Linked DNA regions of Homo sapiens: all the other regions are linked to region 1. The links are contacts of gene promoters, found by promoter capture Hi-C in blood cells and fetal thymus (Javierre and others, 2016). All regions are on one chromosome and are shown on one strand. The core of a region is centred on a gene start or on the middle of the fragment in contact, and the rest is flanking DNA. Distances in the headings are between cores, read along the strand shown.

Region 1 (4,103 bases), core at 1,541-4,040:
TGATAACATAGTGCTAAGACACCTTGAATTCTAAGATACATCCCAAATTCCAAGATGTTAAAGATGAAAATACAATATATCTTAATAGTTTTCATACATATGTACTATATATCTAAGACAGAAATTTTACATGTGATATTCTCAATCCTAGTCTACTTATTTTTTAAATGATGTTATGGGTTTGCTAAATTAATTTTACCACCCACTAATGGGCTGACCTGATCTAAACACTAATCTACATCATGTGTCACAGATAATTAAAAACCTTGTTAACATATACAACCAAGGTGCTAATTGCTTAATTCTATGGTGGGTGCAGAAGAAGAAAAGACACAATTGAATATGGACAGAAACTACCTGGAAAGTTTTCAAATTGGAAAGAAGAATTGAGCCTTGAATACATGGGTAAAATATGGTGTGATAAAGAAGAGGCAGTGAATGGTTGAGAAACATAAACTGGGGGAAAAACCCTCAGATGTAAATGTAAAAAAAAAATTCCTTTCCTTAAAAATAAAATCTAACCATTTAACATTATTTTAAAAATATATGAGAATCCTTTTTGAATAGTAAAAGTCTCAATAATTTCAAAGATTACAACAAATTTTAATGTTTCACCTACAGAAAGTATACAGAATTCTGAAAAATTAAATACAGCTTCCAAAGAATGAAAATATATAAAATTGATTTAAGTAGAACTTGATACAATATTTGTTTTATACCCTTGTTATAAATTCAAAAGGGGTCAAATAGTCTAATAGCAAAATGATAGCAGCCTGAAAACAAGTGGCTGTATATTCCCCCACCCCCAATTTTTCTGTGCTTCTCTTATATTCAAAGATTAACGCAAAAACAAAATTTTGGAATCTGCTCTTTGCTGACCTCTGTACACGTTACCAAAAAAAAAAAAATCCTAGGATATAATGAGGTATACAGCACAAAACTGGCTGGCTGAACTCCTCAGTGACTCCCCTGCATTCACCTTCAGAATTTCTCTCTACTCCTGGCAAAAAGTGAGCAAACAACACAAACCCAAAAACCTATTTTGTACGTGTATGTGAAATGTGCACACCACAGTGCAAATATGTGATAGTTTTTAAATGTGCACGATTGGCAGTTAGGAAATGTCACTGTAATCGTTAGGTGAAACTTCAATCCCTTTGATGAAGATACCATCTTTGAGCCAAGCCCTGACAGAAAACCTTTGGTTCCTGTTAGACCCCTCCCTCCCCAGTCAGCTGCTGGGCTCCATCCGGAGGGATGGAGGCTCTCTCTCTCCATTACAGCTAAGCGTTCCCAGACCCAGCAGAAACCCTGGGTTCCTGCAGAGCACTCAACGTGCAGCAAAGTGTCCCAGCTCTGCAAAGGGCAGCTGGAAATGGATTTAAAATGGCAACGCGGACCAATCAGCGCTGCCGCGCCAAAGCAGACATTTACACGCGCCTCCTCCACATGCACAGCGGAACCTGGCGGTGCCTAACTCCTGCTTAGGGCTGCAAAGTAGGCGTTTTTATTCCACGGTGGTCTGTATCTTTGAAAAAAATAAATTCTTCCCCAGGTGAAAGTTTTTATTTTGGAATTAGTCCAAAATAATTTTGGGTGTGATGTGTGAAAATCTGAACCTAATTTTTTCAGAGTTTTGTGTTATTCAAGGATGAAAAGAGGTACATTTAAAAATGTACTCCACCTTTTAAAAACGGACTGTGGCCATTATGGTGTTCACATAACTCAGAACAGCCCAGGCCATAAAATTAGGACTTGGCAGAAAGAGAGTTCTCAGGCAGAAGGTTAAATCGAGGTAAACTGAAGGGAGAGTTGGGCAGTGAGTGCAATTGTGGTGTTAGGAATCTACAAGGTGCCCTTTACCCTGGGAACATCGGATTCCCGGGGAGGGGGATGGGGAGGGAACTTCGGTTGCCTCTAGTCTTTCCTGGAGAAAAAAGTTCAATGAAGAAGCTGGGGCGCTCTGTGTGTGCACATTGTTTGCATGTGTCTGCGAATGTGCATGTCTATCTGCGTGCCTGTGTGTATGTGTGTGTGTGTAAATGCGGGTGTTTACCAGCGCATGAATGCCCCCGTGTCCACGTGTATCTGCGTGCATGTGCTTACACGCGTGTTCGTGTGTATCTGCATGCATGTCTCCGTGTATGTGCGCGCTCGCCCGCCCGCAGGCTCTGTGGTGAGGGCATTCCGAGGCGGAGTACGGCTGTCAGGGGACCTCTCCCACTCCACTGCAGTCCCTTCCCACTCACAGTGAACCGGTGCGCTGCCTGAGGTGCAGCCTAGACGCTTCCTGCAAAGTGTTGGCTCGGCACGGTAGAGGCGCAGGTAAAGGCCAAGCCCCGAAACGTGGCTCCGGGACAGTCACGTTCCCGCGCCTTCCCAGGACAACTGCCCAGGGGTGACCTCGAGAGGCGGGTGGAGCTAGGCCCACGGCGAGCCAGCCCGGGATCCCCGGCCTGTCCCTTTAACCCCGCCGCCGGGCGGGAGCACGTGAGCGGGGCTCCGGGTGGCACCCGGGCGCCGCCGCCGCCGAGGCAGTTGTATTTCGAACGCTGCCTCTGGCTAGCAGCCAGGCGCCTTGGCTCGGCGGTCCGCCTGGCCTCCCTCCTCCTCATACTTTTCTTCCTGCGCAACCCCCTCCCCTTTATCCGCCCACGATTAGAGGTGGGCACTCCCCCCACCACCACCCCCTCCCCAAGCGCAAGCGCGTGCACGCACACACACCACACACACTCACACTCACACACACTCACACACACTCATCCCACTTGAATCTTGGGGCAGGAACTCAGAAAACTTCCAGCCCGGGCAGCGCGCGCTTGGTGCAAGACTCAGGAGCTAGCAGCCCGTCCCCCTCCGACTCTCCGGTGCCGCCGCTGCCTGCTCCCGCCACCCTAGGAGGCGCGGTGCCACCCACTACTCTGTCCTCTGCCTGTGCTCCGTGCCCGACCCTATCCCGGCGGAGTCTCCCCATCCTCCTTTGCTTTCCGACTGCCCAAGGCACTTTCAATCTCAATCTCTTCTCTCTCTCTCTCTCTCTCTCTCTCTCTCTCTCTCTCTCTCTCTCTCTCTCTCTCGCAGGGTGGGGGGAAGAGGAGGAGGAATTCTTTCCCCGCCTAACATTTCAAGGGACACAATTCACTCCAAGTCTCTTCCCTTTCCAAGCCGCTTCCGAAGTGCTCCCGGTGCCCGCAACTCCTGATCCCAACCCGCGAGAGGAGCCTCTGCGACCTCAAAGCCTCTCTTCCTTCTCCCTCGCTTCCCTCCTCCTCTTGCTACCTCCACCTCCACCGCCACCTCCACCTCCGGCACCCACCCACCGCCGCCGCCGCCACCGGCAGCGCCTCCTCCTCTCCTCCTCCTCCTCCCCTCTTCTCTTTTTGGCAGCCGCTGGACGTCCGGTGTTGATGGTGGCAGCGGCGGCAGCCTAAGCAACAGCAGCCCTCGCAGCCCGCCAGCTCGCGCTCGCCCCGCCGGCGTCCCCAGCCCTATCACCTCATCTCCCGAAAGGTGCTGGGCAGCTCCGGGGCGGTCGAGGCGAAGCGGCTGCAGCGGCGGTAGCGGCGGCGGGAGGCAGGATGAGCGCACGCGGTGAGGGCGCGGGGCAGCCGTCCACTTCAGCCCAGGGACAACCTGCCGCCCCAGCGCCTCAGAAGAGAGGACGCGGCCGCCCCAGGAAGCAGCAGCAAGTCAGTACGAGGGCGCGGTGGGGGCACCAGCCCACCCCGTCCCCACTGCCGGGGCCCAGACACGCGCGGGGCGGCCGGAGTGCGGGAGCCCAGTCGCCGCGGCCGTCGCACACTGCCCGCCGGCCGGCCGGGGGGAGCGGCGCAGACCCCACGAGTGCGCCGCGCGGCCCCGGGGCGCCAGCAACCCTCCGGGCGGGGAGGTGGGGAGCCGCGGCGGGCGGCCCGGGGAAGGCGGGAGGTGGGGTCGGGCGAAGCGCGTCCTCGGACTTTCGCTATTGTGCACGGCCCCGAGTGGCGCGGTGTCGCCCAGTGACTGGAAGCGACCGGGATCCGACAAACCCGGGCTCGCAGGCGCTTTCCGAGTTGCTTTTGCAACTGCCCGGGAGGAAGGAGGTGCCGGGGACCCGGGCGCTT
Region 2 (4,081 bases), core at 1,557-4,056, 260 kb after region 1:
GAAAGGATGATACAGACTCCTAAAGCTGAGGACATTTGAATCTGTGTCCCAATGCCATATACAAGGGCACTTTCCCCCATAGGTCAGCACTCCTACTGACACTAGAGACTCCATCGCTGCTAACAACAGGACTTGGGTGAAATCTGTTGACCAGGATTTCACCAGCCTGTCCTTACCTGCCACTCAACTTCTTGAAGGAGTTTCCCAAACCAACTTGCAACTCAAATAATTGAAATTCCCACAGACACCCAACACCTGCTCACCCTCTCTGGACATTCCGAGGACTTCTACTTCCCTTTGATATCCAGTTACCTCAAAGAATGAGTATTTATTTCACCATCTGCAAGATATAACTCTGTGTCAAGTGTCAAAGCTAGCAATGAAATAAACTCTGAATAAATAATGGGAGTCAATATTTGTGATTACAAAGAGATCAGTAAGTCTGTCAGTCGCTGCATACAAAAAGAAAGAGTGCCCTTGAGAAGGGCAAAGAGGCATCCTTGAGGGAGCCCTTGCACCTTCAAAGGGAGCAAAATTACAAGCAAAACACATTCATCCCAGGAAGCTCATCTTGTTCTGCCCACAAGTTGTGTGTGCCTTTAGTTTTGAGTCTTGAGTGTTCCCAGTTTCTCCTCTTATGTGTACCTCTGGAACTTTGCTATCTCTCATTAATATTCTTCTGATTATTGGTCCCCAATTTTGCTTCATGTCTCTCCTTAATGTTCTTCTGATTATTGGTCCTCAGTTTTGCTTCAGTCTCAAATAGTTTTGTCATGCAACTTGAGTCTCTGATCTTCCAATCTGTCCTTTAGTTTTTGTTTGTACTCCACCACATCTTCTTTGACCACTTACCCAGTGAGAAAATATCCACACAGAGACAGTGGAAGGTTTTGTTCAGACTTTCCACTCAAGGCAATGGTTTTTTTTGGTTAAAGGATTGCTTATCTTCCAAATACTATATCTATCACTAAATTCTAAGAGTTATTCCCTACTCTAAAACCTTTAGGTTTGAGTGTGGGCTGGAATCTGAGATAGAGTGGCATTCCTATACTAAACTATATCCATATATCTTCTCATCTTGATCTTGCTGTACGTGTTTGTGTACATAATTCCACATAGATGCATATAGCAAAATAGAAACATTTATTTCAGTTGTTCTTTAAAAACACACAAAGTATCGCACTGCATTTCTCTTTCTTCCTATGAGTGCGTTTCTTTCACAGGGGTATTTAGATAACCAAAAATATTCTCCTGAGTTTTCCTGAGCATTGGTATGACACATAACCACTAAACCTCATATTAAGAAAAAGCTGGCTTAAATAAGAAATTGAAAAATCTGCCTGCAAATAATACTGTAAAAGTTTACAGTCCATCCTAACCATCAAGGATATTTTCCATAACTTTAGGGTTTGATAGTAAAATATATACACACACATATGTATGTTTCTAATAACACAGCACTAAAGTAAAATAAACCTGCTTGTCCAAATACGGTTGCGTTTCAGTCAAAGTTTTGCTTAATGTTTTGAGAAGCGCTTTGGTGAAGATAAATATTCTCAGCCTTAGATTTTATGTCAGATGCTCAGGGTGCCATCTACTGGCCGACTCTGGATTGGGACAGTTTTGTTTTCGGTAGGAACCAAACTCCATGTTGCCACTGATCCACAGCTTCAATGGTGGCCCAATTTTAAGATAATGCCATCTGTGTTGATTTCCTTTTTCAGAGAAGGACATCCAGATTGTTGAGTTTTATTAGAATGAGAAGGCATTTTGTTTTTGAACAGCGATCTTTCTTTCTTCTTTTTTTTTTTTTTTTTTTTGACAGAATCTTGCTCTGTCCCCCAGGCTGGAGTGCAATGGCGTGATCTCTGCTCATGACAACCTCCGCCTCCTGGGTTCAAGCGATTATCCTGCCTCAGCCTCCTGAGTAGTTGGGATTACAGGCGTGTGCCACCATGCCTGGCTAATTTTTGTATTTTTAGTAGAGACCGGGTTTCACCATGTTGGCCAGGCTGGTCTTGAATTCCTGACCTCAGGTGATCCACCCGCCTCAGCCTCCCAAAGTGCTGGGATTACAGGCGTGAGCCACCGAGCCTCGTTGAACAGCGATGTTTCTAATGACACGAGGCCTGAGCTGCGTACTGCCCTGTCACATCAGATTGCTGTGTAACTGCAACCCGATGCCTTGCTCTGTCTGGGACTGTCTGAGTATCAGGTTGAGGATAGGGAGCACGACTGGCCAACTATGTCTTCATGGAAATACCATCCTGGGAGCATACAGCATTCCCAGTAAAGTGATGCCCATGAGAAACGAGGGAAGGGGTTGTGTGTTGGTGCCAACACAGCCATCTCTCTGAAAAAAGAGGCCTCCTTTCTGCCCTGCAGAAGCCAGGAGGTTACTGCAGGCTGCAGAAGATGTGCACCTTCCCAAGAGATTTTTTGGCAAGTTCTCTCTTGAGGTCCCTTCCTGGAGAGCAGGTCCAATGCCTTCCTCCTTCATGATCTGCCCAATGACTGCATGCTCATTTTATGGTATTTTATCTTTCAGAAGCCAAGCTTGTGCCGCCCGGCCCCTTTAATGTTTTCTGTGTCTCAGGTGCAAAAGGGTTCTTGTGGACATTCCACACAACAATAACGAATCCATTTATCATCCTGCCCAGCCCCCTGTGGAGCTGCTCTGAGTTCAGAGCTCCCACCGGCCTTGACGCTTTTGAAGGTGAGTCCACCTCGGCCACAGCCAGAGGGTTTCAGAGCTGCCCCAGTTGTTGTTGAAGCTGGGGACTGAGCAATCATGGCCGTTTTACCCAAGGGGGTTGTCCACAAATCAGGAAGTGTCCTGTATGTCTCTGTGTGGAGACCACCTGATCATACTTCTAAAATCTCTTTTTTATTAAAAAAAATTTATGAAGAAACCATTTTCCAAGAATTAAATTAAATTCCAAACCTGATGTGTATGTTGAGGCTAGAATCCAAGATTCAGAGGAGGATAGAGTCCCTCTTCAACCAAGTATCAAGCTAGCCCCTTTGAAATGCTGTGATTGCCTGAGGTGGCTAAAAAAAGCTTATGTAAAAAAAAAAAAATTGGTAGAAATTGGGAATCAAAGATAATGTCTTCACCCTTTACATCAAACACAGGTTTATTTGTATGTCCTTAAAAATATTCACATGAGCCCAGCACAGTGGCATGCGCCTGTCTTCCCAGATACTTGGGAGGCCGAGGCTGGAGGATCACTTGAGCCCAGGATTTCGAGGGCAGATTGGGCAACATAGCAGGGCCCCTATTCACATGACTTATGCAACAATATCAGAAGCATACTGATCATTTTAACAATTAGTCTCTCTCCCTGAGAAATAAGAATAGAAACTTGGAAAAGACCGTGGTGTTTCCAAGAGCATACAGCATAAAGTCCTGGACCCCAAAGAGAATTTTAAACAACACATTCTACAAGCATAAGTGATTTAAAAAATAAAGGTTGTTCACAAACATTGTTTTATCTTAAAGAGCCAGTCTCACTTCAGTTGGCACAGAAAAGAGACATAGAAAAAAATGGATGTGTCCCGAAAGATTTGATGATGATGAAAACACTGCTACAAACCAACTAATACTTCACATGTCAGTATGGTAGACGGAGGTTTCATTATCCAAAACAAGATGGCGGTTTTTCTGCCTAAGAAATCTGGACTAAGAAGACTTTCAGAAAATGATATGTCTTCAATAATTTAACCAAAAATGAAGGGATACAAAACAGATTTGTGAAGCTCAGAGAAAGAATACAAGATAAAATATTGACATCTTCTGTTGTGTCCATTCAGGATCCAAATCCAGCTCATATAATTTGCAACTATTTGACTGGATAAAGGAACATAATAGAGGTGCGAGTTTTAGCCTGGGGCTTTTAAAGATTATCTTTAAAGTTTTCCAAATAAAGCTAACAATTTGAAAGTACTGTTTTTACTACAAGAAGGAGCCCAGTGATTCTAGAAGAACACCAGAAACATGGCACATCCAGGAAACAAAAAATGCCTCTATTGAGTTAGAACAATGAGCTTATCTGCACAGCACAGAGAAACTAAGGTAATC
Region 3 (4,392 bases), core at 423-2,922, 500 kb before region 1:
AACTTTACTGTTTTAACCTACTAAACTCAAAGCAAAACAAGACATTCTTATCTCTTATTCATTTATTATCTTGGGAAAATATTTAATAGTTTCGTTTTTTCTGATTCTAGAACCAAAATTAAAGTTATGGGATCCTTAGGTTTTGTTTTGTTTTGATTTTTCACACCGAAATATAAAATTTATGACTTAAAAGTACTCTAAGGTTTAGGTAACAGATCTAATTTACTTCTTAATAGGAAGTTAAAAAAGCCTTTCAACGTTTCATAGACTTTGTGAGAATCCTGTATGAAACTTGTCACTGACCCTATGTTGAAGGAGTAAATACAGGGAAAAGAGACATTGGCTAATAGATAAATGTATGTAACTTTTCTGATGTACTGAGGTGATTATTACTTTTTCCCCCTTATTATTTTGTTAGTTTTTAAGCTGAAAGTTATTGTATAGTTAGAGAAGAAAGAAGAAAAGTTGTTACATAATTTTTCCTGACAAAATATGATGACTGGCTGGGTGTGGTGGCTCACACCTGTAATCCCAGCACTTTGGGAGGCCGAGGCGGGCAGATCACCTGAGGTCAGGAGTTCGAGACCTGGCCATCATGTCGAAACCCCATCTCTACCAAAAATACAAAAATTACCCGGGTGTGGTGGTGGGCGTCTGTAATCCCAGCCACTCTGGAGGCTGAGGCTGAGGCAGGAGAATCGCTTGAATCCGAAATGCAGAGGTTGCAGTGAGCTGAACTCACACCACTGGACTCCAGCCTGGGTGACAGAGCGAGACTCCATCTCAAAAAAAAAAAAAAAAAAAAAGAAGAAGAAAGAAAATATAACAACTATGAGTTTTGCAGTCAGACAGCCCTGGGTTTGAGTTGATAAGTCTACTTGCTGTTTGTCCTTAATAAGGTATGTTATAACCTCTCCACGCCTCAGTTTCTGTATCTGTAAAATGGGCATGACAGCCACGTTCTAGAATTATTGAGAAGATTAAATGTATTTATGTGAAAGTGCCTAGACATGTGCCTGGCATGTAGGAGGACTCAAATTTTAGTTTTATTTTCTTCCTTCATTTCCCACTTTAATCATAAAAACAAGATAAGGTGTGAGGAAAATACTGTTCCCAGGGAATTATTATAGAAAAAGAATTACCAATAAAAGATTGCTGCACACTAAATACTGGACCTGGCTATCTTTTAAAATACAATTTTAACCTCAGAATTCACTGTAATCAAAATGAAGTAAGTGCTAATGGCTGTGATCCTTATAGCAGATCTTTGAGGGTGGCAACACATAGCAAAGGTGACTTGCTTCAGGTCACGTGGCTGGGAAGCAGGCAGAGCCACAAAGCAAACTGTTGCTGTACGTTTATTTGTACTAATAGCAAGAGCTTCATACTGGGGCTTCGAAACAATACTGGCCTTGAGGCAACAACACAGGACAAGCTTCGCTATAAAAAGAGACTTTGGACATATTTCAATAAATAAAATATCCTTGGACTATGTTCAAGATGGAACTGATCTATCTCAAAGTTACTCTGTAAGGAACGGTGTTATGATTAGATACCAAAATGGCAATATTATCTCCTCAAATATGTAATTGTGTTACATGTGTGTACACACACACTCACTTGTGCCTTCAAAAGACACTATTAAACATTTAAATAAAGGGAAAAATCTTTCCCAAACATACTTCTAAGCCAATTTAGAGGTCATTGAACAGATGTCATATAATACTAATGTTAAATTACCCTGTGTAATAAGAAAATTACAGTACCTAAGTGAAGATAGTAAAGGGAAACCATCCAATGAATTACTCCAGAATTTCAAAATGAAATGATTTTTTCAAGATTAACAGTGGCACCATATGACTTTAGAAAAGTGAGTCTGATAGGGAGAAGGGAAATAAGAGACAAAAGTGAAGCTTTTCTGTGTTTATATATACCAATATTTGGTTCTGATGATAGAAGGGCTAATGTAATAGTATAGCTTTAAATTGTCCAGGAAGTATATTATTATTATTAAATGGTGTGGCAAGATATTTATTAAAATCTGACCAACTTCTCATTGAATTGTTTAATGTAAAATCACAATAGTTGTTTCTAGTCTACATATATTTCCTTTTGGTATTAGATATACTTTGAAAACCTAATTATTTTGAGAATATAGTATAACCAAAGAATGAAAATGTACAAAGTTTGACAACTTTAAATAATCACTAGTATTTCTTAAAGGACAAACCTCACTTACAGTTAGGAAACAATATTTATACTTAAGGTTGAAAAGCCAGGATGTAAAAAAATTTTGCTAATTTGGAAGATGACCTTTAAGTGCACCAAAACCAAATAATTTGTAGGCTATGACATAGGGCACATTCCTACAAAATTTGTGTGAATACTGCTTTAGTGGTTCTTGAAAGACAAACAAAGAAAGCTGGAATGAAATCTTTATTCCCCTCCCAAATAAGACGGAGACTAACAAAGGAGTACAGCAGCACTCTTTCAAGGCTTGCCATTAAAACGAGGTCTCTGTAGCACAGTTAATGAGATGTTTCATAGTGGAAAACAATCTGTTTTTAAGAATGTTTAGATCAAAAGTAATTTCTAATCTATGAAATAAAGTCTCTTCAATACCCTTCATTCACTAGTAAAGCTTTTATGTTTGTATTATTTACTTCAATCAGATGTTTTCAATTTTACCTTTTTTTCTTGTACAAATACTTGACATGGTTCATCAATACTGACCAACGGTTTTATTCTCTTCGGAAAAGAGAGATTCATGAGAGAGGGAGAATGAAAAAGAGAGAAACATCTTTGCCTAAATGATTTGCAAGCATCTGTGCTTTAAGCTACTTTTTATGAACACTCCTTAGTAAATGACTCAAGGTAAAAAGGCAGAAAAGCATCCAATGTTAGGAAATTGCAATCCAATACCATGTAATTTAAACCTGCAGTTGCTTCTCTTGTACTAAATGACATACAGATGGGTAGCTTAGTTCTCTCAACTTTGGGAACACAATTGGTCTTTTTGTATGAATGAACGTATATTAACAAAAATATTTTGGATAGAATTGTTTGATTTTAATTGTACATATTTTAATTATGCCATTGAAAAGAATAATTTTAACCAAGTCATTTTGTCATGTTAAGTTTGCATTTAATGATTTTGTGACAGTATTAACTAAGATACAACCCTTCCAACAAACACATGAGAATAAAATAATTTTTAAGAAGTCTGTACTGAATTAAGCAGAAACTCACCTATCACTGTTGACTGATTATTTAAGAAAGAGCCACTTTGCATTCAAGCTATTGAGAGGCTTGTTCTGATAGGACAGACATTTCTCAGGGAAACATTTCTACCTAACCGTTGATAACAGCAAAAATACAAGTAGTAGGTATTTGGATAAAGCCTAGGATAAGACGGGGTCCAGTGAGATGAGAGATCAACATGCCATTAGTGACATGCCTGCTGTGCCTGTGGATCTTTGCAGGCCAGGGAAGGGCTGAAGTATTTGTGGAAGGTCAGCAGAGGTGCTGTCTGACAACCTGCAGGCCCACTCCAAGGTGTATCTTGCTCTTTGGGTCTGGCTTGCTCTTTTGCTGCCTCCATTTTCTCTTGTGGAGAATCAACCGCTCTATCTTGGTGGCCCGGATTCTGCAAGCTGATATCCTTCTTCAACACCACAGTCAGGGTAACCGGCTAGACAATATTTTCCTAGTTTAAGGTCAGCGATCTCATACTATGACATTAGGTACCTTGAACGTAAAAAAAACGGGAAGCATTTCCACTCCTAATCATATTTCTTTATATTTCAAAAGAAGTTGCGTTTAGTATTTGGGAAACTAAGCAAGCTTTCTTCTAGTAACTTCAAAACATGGCAAGAACTCTCTACATTTAGGACCATCTGCAGGCCTCTTTCCCACTGTGATGGATGGCAAAGAAAAGCAATTTTACTGCAGTGAGTAATGGCTACCCTGTCCTGGAGTTATATTTCTTTTCAGTCATTTGCTCATGTAAAATAAAATACTACATATAAACAGGTGTTGTCTGAACATTTTACTGCAGGCTGTATAGGTTGAAATAAAAGCTGCCATTGTTATTAGAATCACATTAGAATTATTTCACCATTCAAATACAGTTAATCAGTAAAGTCTTCCTAGATATACTTTGCAAAAAGAAAATGTAGGTTTCTAAAAATATTCACATTTCCTTTTTTCTTTGTCTTTCTCCCTTTCTGTTTTTCCCACTCTTTCTTTGGAACTTCTTGAATCTGCATTAGTGAAAATGCCTTCTCCTGTAGTTTATTGAAAGTTTCTTGCTGCCCATTTAACATGGTAAGATACAGTCTTTGAAGAGATATACAGAATCTTTATACTTTGAAGGAGTATACAGAATCTAGT

What was found. Contacts are between HindIII fragments. The CHiCAGO score rates a contact against its expected background, and 5 or more counts as called.
Region 2: a contact is called between a fragment that was not itself captured here and the fragment with the promoter of HMGA2 in region 1, in 1 of 17 cell types (endothelial precursors). The highest score is 6.2, in endothelial precursors.
Region 3: a fragment that was not itself captured here is called in contact with the fragment with the promoter of HMGA2 in region 1 in 1 of 17 cell types (endothelial precursors); the score reaches 7.0 in endothelial precursors.

Annotation. Positions count from the first base shown.
Region 1 is chr12:65,821,693-65,825,795 of GRCh38, forward strand. It overlaps HMGA2 (high mobility group AT-hook 2), which reads left to right and starts at 2,791. Exons shown (of 5, transcript NM_003483.6): 1 at 2,791-3,689. The coding sequence starts at 3,579. It also overlaps the pseudogene RPSAP52. RefSeq lists an enhancer at 3,911-4,103. The HindIII fragment of the contact is 7,944 bases long and covers 1-4,103 here.
Region 2 is chr12:66,085,969-66,090,049 of GRCh38, forward strand. No RefSeq gene overlaps it. Among named protein-coding and RNA genes, the nearest start is that of LLPH, 43 kb to the right of the region's middle. The HindIII fragment of the contact is 505 bases long and covers 2,555-3,059 here.
Region 3 is chr12:65,321,876-65,326,267 of GRCh38, forward strand. All of the region lies in intron 2 of MSRB3 (methionine sulfoxide reductase B3), which reads left to right. Among named protein-coding and RNA genes, the nearest start is that of MSRB3, 45 kb to the left of the region's middle. The HindIII fragment of the contact is 478 bases long and covers 1,434-1,911 here.